Linked DNA regions of Homo sapiens: all the other regions are linked to region 3. Evidence: promoter capture Hi-C in human tissues and cell types (Jung and others, 2019). All regions are on one chromosome and are shown on one strand. The core of a region is centred on a gene start or on the middle of the fragment in contact, and the rest is flanking DNA. Distances in the headings are between cores, read along the strand shown.

Evidence for each region. The method cuts DNA at HindIII sites, captures the fragments that hold promoters and counts their contacts. A contact is called where the count stands out against the background at its distance.
Region 1: a fragment that was not itself captured here is called in contact with the fragment with the promoter of SH3RF1 in region 3 in 5 of the 25 tissues and cell types used here (H1 embryonic stem cells, dorsolateral prefrontal cortex, hippocampus and 2 more).
Region 2: a contact is called between a fragment that was not itself captured here and the fragment with the promoter of SH3RF1 in region 3, in 2 of the 25 tissues and cell types used here (dorsolateral prefrontal cortex and stomach).

What each region holds. Positions count from the first base shown.
Region 1 is chr4:169,157,002-169,159,701 of GRCh38, forward strand. All of the region lies in intron 2 of SH3RF1 (SH3 domain containing ring finger 1), which reads right to left. Among named protein-coding and RNA genes, the nearest start is that of SH3RF1, 110 kb to the right of the region's middle. The HindIII fragment of the contact is 4,174 bases long and covers 1-2,700 here.
Region 2 is chr4:169,188,587-169,191,286 of GRCh38, forward strand. All of the region lies in intron 2 of SH3RF1 (SH3 domain containing ring finger 1), which reads right to left. Among named protein-coding and RNA genes, the nearest start is that of SH3RF1, 81 kb to the right of the region's middle. The HindIII fragment of the contact is 6,148 bases long and covers 1-2,700 here.
Region 3 is chr4:169,269,593-169,272,292 of GRCh38, forward strand. SH3RF1 (SH3 domain containing ring finger 1) reads right to left here and starts at 1,364. Exons shown (of 12, transcript NM_020870.4): 1 at 1,267-1,364. RefSeq lists silencers at 585-804, 1,045-1,804, 1,845-1,994. The HindIII fragment of the contact is 13,720 bases long and covers 1-2,700 here.

The DNA of each region.
Region 1 (2,700 bases), core at 162-2,661, 110 kb before region 3:
TCAAGAACTCATAAAAAACAAGCTTAACTTCCTACATTAACTACTTTATTCATCAGGATAAATGATAAACACTGAGGAGAAATGATAGATACTGAGGGGAAAAATTTAAACCAAATTTATTAATTTACTAAACTGCTTTTAAGCTTGGTTGATAAAAATCAGAGTTCGGCTTTTAGGCAAATCTCTTCCTGATATTGCTTTTAATGTGGGCAGTAGGTCTTACTCTTTCATGAGCTCAATGAGTATTTAATGAGGGTCTACTCCTGGATACAGCAGTGAGTGAACAGTCACAGTACCTGCCATCCCCAAGTTTATAATCTGTAAGTGTATAGACACGTGGTCTTTTACAGCCTAAGATCATTCAACTTTGCTCTTTCCTGGAAGAGAGCACATTGTTAGGCTGATAAGCTAAGAGATGAGGAATTTAATGTTCCTGCATTGCATTACTGTTTTAAATGACAAGTTTAAAATTGTGTACATAAACCCCAGTGCAATTTAATCATCAACTGATTAATATGATACTTTTCAACGGCATTGGGGGTGCCCAATCTTGAGCATCAGTTGTCACTTTAAGATCTTTGGCCTCTCTGAGCGCTGTTGCATATCGTTGATTCAGGAGATAAGTGGCAAATCCAACATGTCTATAATAATTCCCTGAACAAGATTACAGGGCTCCTGCTTTTGGAGTCTTTATTTATTTATTCACTCTTCCAGAAAACATTTATCAAGCTTTTACTTTTTTTTTCTTTTTTTTTTTTAAGACGGAGTCTTGCTCTGTTGCCCAGGCTGGAGTGCAGTGGTGCAATCTCGGCTCACTGCAACCTCTGCCTCCTGGGTTGAGTGATTTTAACGCTTCAGCCTCCCAAGTAGCTGGGATTGCAGGCAAGCACCACTATGTCTGGCTCATTTTTGTATTTTTACAAAATGGGGTCTCGCCATGTTGGCCAGGCTGGTCTCAAACTCCTGACCTCAAATGATCCACCCACCTTGGCCTCCCAAAGTGCTGGGATTATAGGCATGAGCCATCGCACCCAGTGCAAGCTTTTACTTTTTACCACGCAATGTGCAAGTGCTGATGACTTAAAGAAGAATAAGACAGTTCTTTTCTTAAAGGATATTAGTAATAACTACAATACAGTGTAATAAATGTAATGATAAAGATATGCACACCATTTATGGGGACAAAAAACATAGGTCTCTCGTGTTTGGTGAGTAGGAAAATGAAACACTTCCTGGAGGAAGTGACACATGAGCCAAGTCTTAAAGGATGCACAGGAATTAGTTGTCAAGGTTGGAGTGAATGAATGAAAGAGAACAGTAAGGGCATTCCAGGCAGAGGGGTCAGCACCAGCAAAGACCTGGAGGTAAGAAGTCACATGTGCAGCGGGACTGGGGAGCATAAAGAATGCAGTATTCCTGGATAAGAATTACGGAACATAAAGGAGAGGTAGGCAGAGGCCAGTTTATTGAGGGTCTTGTATAACATATGAAAGAGTTTTTATTGCTGCGTTCTTCTGGTAATGGTAAGTCATTTCCATGTTTAATGCACAAACAGACTTAGGTCCTATGTGCCGGACAGATCAGTCTGGCAGTAGTGTGGAAAATGGACGTGAAGTGGGCAGGCAGGCAGAGAGCTATGTGCAAAGCACAGGCCTCAACTAGTTGAATATTTTTTAAGTTTAATATTTCCAATGAAGTAGAGCAATATAGTTAGCATTACTTATATCATTGTCTGCCCCCCGACCTGTAAAAAGTGGATCAAAGTTTTATACCCTTGATGGCAACAGAACTTCATAACACAATTTTCAAAAATTAGTTTGGTTTCTACTTAGAGACTTAGAGTCTGGACTACCTATAAGCCAAATTTGTTTTGCTAAACATTTGTTTAGGAATATTAATTATTGCTCTCAAAATGCTATTGGCAATCATCTTGCCTTGGCTTAGTCCATGTGATGTTGTAGTTGGTTAATTAGAACTTCCCTGAGAGGCCAATGTCCTGGGAAGACAGGGGTTGAGCCTTCCAGAGTAATGACACCCTCCTGTGACCTCTGACTTTCAGACTCTGTCTTAAGATCTGGCCTCCAATGGCGTCACTTCTGCTACTCTGCCTTGACCTAATCTTGTAAGCAATTCTGCTGTGCCCAGAAAGGAAATGCCCACCAAGAACTCTGGTCATTCACAACGCTGTGTACTCTGGTCACATTACATTAGTGTCCAACTCTGGGGAAAGAAGAATTCTAATTTTTCTCTACCCTCACAGATGCCTCATTATATTCTCCACTATATTATGTATTTCTTCAAGGCTAGTTATCACAGCTTAACAACATTTCCAAAAATAGGTTTGAGGAAATAATAGTAAAACACAGCAATCGACAGAGAGAGAGAGATAGAGAGAGAGAAAGAGAGAGAACTGGCAAGTACTATACTAAATCTCTTGTACAATAGCTAAAGAGACTCTGATCAGGCAGTATAGGGTACTGGCTGGAAGCACAAACTCCAGAGCCAGATTGCAGGGTGTGAATCCCATTTACTAGCTCTGTGATTTGGGGCAGGTTAACTCGCTGTGCCTCTTTCTTCATTTGGGCTGTTGTGAGGATTTAGTGAATTCATATATATAAGCCACACCTTAAATGACCCAGCAGGCAGTACATGCTACATGTGTGAACCATCATCATTGTCATCATCGTCATCATTACCCAG
Region 2 (2,700 bases), core at 2-2,501, 81 kb before region 3:
AATGAAAATGTACTTGTGATCGTTGTAATTCACTGAAAATCTGACAGGAAAAAAGCCCACATGTAAAAACATCGACACACTCAAAATCTTTAAAGCTTTCTGGCTTATGTAACAATTTCAACCTGTATACGGCAGTTCAATAAATTCTAAATGAAAAGCTTTATGCAGAAGTGGCCAAAATTGGCAAAATAATTTCTTCCATACTCCCTCTATCAATTTGGTGCGTGTGCTTCAAGCTTTCAGCAAGGAGTGTTAAACACATGCTCTTCTCTTCTATAATATTTTGGTGGTTGCGTCACTAAGAAAATAGTTTATCAATGTACCACTTGTAACTGACTTTTTCAATGGAATTATGTAGTTACCTCAACCTCTTCAAAAAGATAAATATAGTGCAAAAGCAAAAAACAACAAGAAGAAAAAAAGAAAATGAAAACTTCCAGGGATACAATTTAACTGTCTCATTCTTGTAGAAAAAAGATAGTTTGGGCTTAAATAGTTATTCTGAAGAGATTCTTGTCAGTTCAAGTAGAAGCTTTTGTAAATGTCTAAAATGAAGCACATTGTGGTTCTCACAATTCTATTTCCGTTGATGCAAAAGTGAATATTTACCACAATAAGCAAACACAATACCATTTCCCAAAACACTTAAATTCAGAAAAAACTATCTGCAATTAGTCAACTATGTCATAAAGCAGGCAGCACCTCGTGCTGACATTTTGCTGTTATTTTAGTCCCATTAAAACACTTTTTAAAAAATATCTGGTATTCTATTTTGACCAGTCCCACATGGGGCCAAGACTGGCAGAAGTCATGGTAGGTTAGCATGAGTTTTCTTACTCCTCATCACAGCTCTGGAGGTGAAAAGCCAGAACAAGATCCATGCCAGGGCAGGAAAGAACTACATGTGAAAAGAAAGCAGGTACACTGTTGCTTTCCTCTCCCCAGGACTCCTCTACAGATCTTTCAAATCATAAAGTTTCTGTTGCCACGGCTATCAGTGCAATACCACAGGTTAAAAATAAAACCAGTGGTGGCCTATGCTGTTAGAGAAAGTTGGGTGCATAGGAAAAGACAAGCTTTGGGACCAGGCAGGCGTGGGCTCCTATTTCTGACCCACTGCTGGTTAGCTGCGTGCTCTTGGGCAAGTTGCTCGAATCCCCAAAGTTTAATTTCTTCATTCAAGGGTTGTAAGGCTGAAGGGAGATCAAGTATGAAAAGCACCTAATGCTACTCAAGTCTACTACACTCAATAAATGTTACCTCCTTTTCAAATGAAATTATATCAAGCACTCTCTCAGACCACAGTGGAATAAAACTGGAAATCAACTCCAAAAGGAACCTTCAAAACCATGCAAATACATGGAAATTAAATAACCTGCTCCTGAATCATTGGGTCAAAAATGAAATCAAGATGAAAATTTAAAAATTATTCTAACTGAGTGACAATAGTGACACAAACTATCAAAACCTATGGGACACAGCAAAAGGCAGTGCCAAGAGGAAAGTTCATAGCCCTAAACGCCTACATCAAAAAGTCTGAAACAGCACAGACATTCTAAGGTCACACCTCAAGGAACCGGAGAAACAAGAACAAACCAAACCTGAACCCAGCAAAAGAAAGGAAATAACCAAGATCAGAGCAGAAGCAAATGAAATTGAAACAAACAAAAAATACAAAAGATAAATGAAACAAAAAGCTGGTTCTTTGAAAAGATAAATCAAATTGATAGACCATTAGCAAGATTAACAAAGAAAAGAAGAGAGAAAATCCAAATAAGCTCAATAAGAAACAAAACGAGAGACATTACAACTGACAACACAGAAATACAAAAGATCATTCGAGGTTACTATGAACACCTTTACATGCATAAACTAGAAAACCTAGAGGAGATGGATAAATTTCTAGAGAGATACAACCCTCCTAGCTTAATCAGGAAGAATTAGATACCCTGAACAGACAAATAACAAGCAGAGAGACTGAAATGGTCATTTTAAAATTACCAAAAAAAAAAAAGTCCAGTACCAGATGGATTCACAGCAGAATTCTACCAGACATTCAAAGAAGAATTGATCCCAGTCCTATTGACACTATTCCGCAAGACAGAGAAAGAGGGAACCCTCCCTAAATCATTCTATGAAGCCAGCATCACCCTAATACCAAAACCAGGAAAGGATATAACCAAAAAAGAAAACTACAGACCAATATCCCTGATGAACACAGATGCTAAAATCCTTAACAAAGGACTAGCTAACCAAATCCAACAACATATCAAGAAGATAATCCACCATGATCAAGTGGGTTTCATAAAAGGGATGCAGGTATGGTTTAACACACACAAGTCAATAAATGTGATACACCACATAAACAGAATTAAAAACAAAAATCACATCATCATCTCAATAGATGCAGAAAAAGCATTCGACAAAATCCAGCATCCCTTTACGATTAAAACTCTGGGCAAAATTGCCTTACAAGGGACATACCTCAATGTAATAAAAGCCATCTATGACAAACCCACAGCCAACATAATACTAAATGGGGAAAAGTTGAAATAATTCCCTCTGAGAACTGGAACAAGACAAGGATGCCCACCGTCACCACTCCTCTTCAACATACAAAATTAATGTACGCAGATCAGTAGCTCTTCTATATACCAACAGCGACCCAGCTGATAATCAAATCAAGAACTCAATCCCTTT
Region 3 (2,700 bases), core at 114-2,613:
CAATAAGGAACATAATTTCTTAAGCTCTGAAAGTGGTATCAGCTGCCTTAATAAAGTCTTCAACTCATAGGAGAAGCTGACAGAGGCCATTGAAAGTTTCCTCTACCTGAAATTTACTTTTATATCCAACTAAATTCCCTTTTTTAAGCCACTTTAGCGTTTAAGAAACCATGCCTCATGTAATCGCTCGTGGTAAATGATCCCAATATTAAATACATATGTTTCTTCGCTGTTATTAAAAATAGAACTGTTTAATTTTGCCCAACCAAAAAGAGCTGAAGGTTGACAATTCTAAAAGACACAGATTTGCTTGAAAGCAGCTAAAACAGAAAAGCGCCCTTCAGGGCAGTAGTTGATAAACTCTGAAACACATTTCTGAACGGCCTGTCCTAATCCCATTCAGAAAAGCTGGCAAAATTATCACCAAAAGAATTCGACAATGGAAGGTTGGACTGGAAACTGTGGGCATATGAAAATGAGGCCATTCAGGAAAAAGCAAGCCACTTACTGCGCCGCTCTCCCCCCACCGCCAAAATAAATGTAAAAGTGAATGCCCAGGAGAACGGGAGTAAAAAGATTTGGCTGGGAGCATTAACAGCTGTTCTTGACAAAGCCGGAGCGGGGGAGCCCCAGGGCTGCACCCCCGCTCCCACGGCGCCAAGCACAGGTACTCCCAAGCCCGCAGGGAGGCGCGGCGGCCGCTCGCCGCAGACACACCCCGGGGCCAGGTGTCGGCGGCACCCGGCAGGAGCCGGTCGCGGCCTGGGGCTGCGGCCCGGCCGGTCCCGGCGTGGGGATCTCACCCTACAGCCTCCCTCATCTCCGCCTCCCTTTAGCTCAGGCCGGGGACACAAATCCCTCTACACGACTGCGGGAAGTTTTCAAGGACTTAAAAATAAATGCGCAGGCTTAAGTTGCGAAACTCAGCCCCACAGAGTGCCACGGGGAAGCAGCTTTCTAGCCCAGCCAAGATAAGGCGACAGTCCCCAGAGAGACCGCGCCATCCGGGAAGCAGGGGGTGCTGGGCTGCGCCCGGGGAGACCGCGGCACGGAGCCCTGGCAGCTTCCTGCCCGGAGAAGGCAGAGGCCGCGGGCTGCTCCGCTTCCGCAGGTCCTGATTCCCGGCCCACGGGGACCCGAGGGCGAGGGGAGAGAGAGACCGACCCAGGGCGGGGATGGGGGAATGTCGAGACCACCGCCTTCTCCGCGGCTAGGGGTCCGCCGACGCTGGGTCCCCGTCGACCCCGCGCCGGCCGCGCGCCCTACCTCGCGCCTCGGCTCCTCCTCTTTGTTCGCGGCCCCGCAGCGGCTGCGGCGGCTGATGCAGATGCGGCCCCACCGCGCTCGCCGCTCGCAGTGTCTCTGACGCCGCGGCGGCACCGGGAGACTCCTCTCTGCTGCCCCCCTCACGCGCGCACACACACCACGCCGCCGCCGCCGCCTCCCACTTTCCCAGCCAAGGAGGGCGGAGGAAGAGGAGGAGGAGGCCGGGACGCAGCCGGCGCCCGGGGCGCAAGGGGGCGGCCCCGCGCCACAGCGCCTTCCCCGGGAGCGGGCGCGGCACCTCTCGGAGCCACCCGCCGCCGCGCCGGCCTCCCGCGCTGAGGTGACCTGCGCCCAGTACCCCGCCGGAGCCCGGGGGCGGGATTGGGGCGGCGGCCTGAGGGGGCGCTGCAAGAGCCTAGAGGATGGGGAGCGGGGCCCCCAGGGGACTACGAGGGGAAGGCTCGGGGACGGACGCCTTCTCCCTGAGGAGAACGCGCCTGAAAAATGGAGCCACCGGACGGGAAGGCGGCGGGAGTGGAGGCTGGGGGAAGCAGGAAGAAGCCCCGGGACAGGGTCCCGCCGCCTCCTCCTCCCCCCGGCGGGGCTGGGAGCCCTGGACGGACCCTTCCTCCCCAGGCTGGGCGAGTCGCGGCGCGGGAGGGGCTGGGTCCGCGGAGGCGGCGGGAGCAGCCCTGGCGGGAACCGATCCCGCTGCGCTTTGCGTCTGGTTGCCCACCCCGGACACTTACTTGGTAGAGTCGGAGCGAAGTGTTGCCCCTTAGGGCCGAGAGCGGCGTGGTGAATCGATGGGGACAGTGCCGCGGCCACCTGTCCGCACCCAGCCATCAGTCACCCCAGGACCCAAACCGGAGCAAGCCTGGAGGACCGCTGACCCCAAAGCCCAAGACTAGGAAAACGGTAGTACGGACTTCCAACCCAGGCTCGGGGGCTCTGTTATCCCTGCCCTAAGTGGGGAGAATTGAGTCTGACCTCAGGTGGGCTGGCACCGCAAAGCACGCTGAGAGGCGCCTCTTTTATCTGAGCCTGGGTGGCTGCCATCATCGCAGTAATCTTTGTTTTGGTTGCCCCAAGCACACACCTGTAAACCGAAGTGGAGTTTTGAAAAACATCTTGTCCATAGGTTTTGAGGTTTTTCAGTCTCGATTTAGTGGAGAAGCAAGTTAAAATTTTGTCACTGATCTAAAGTTGACATTACTATATTTGCATTTACCATCAATTTACAAAAAGTTATCCCAAATACCCCTCCTCAAAGGTGGGCAGAAACTAGGTGGTTATAAGAAGAAAGGGTTACAACAGATGATGCAAGAAATCTCTGCCCAGCCACCAACTAGGTTTATGATTTGACGAGGAGTCTCAGTTTATCCTCTAGTCTCCAGCTAGGGCCACAGCTAAACCATTCAAGACATAAGGATC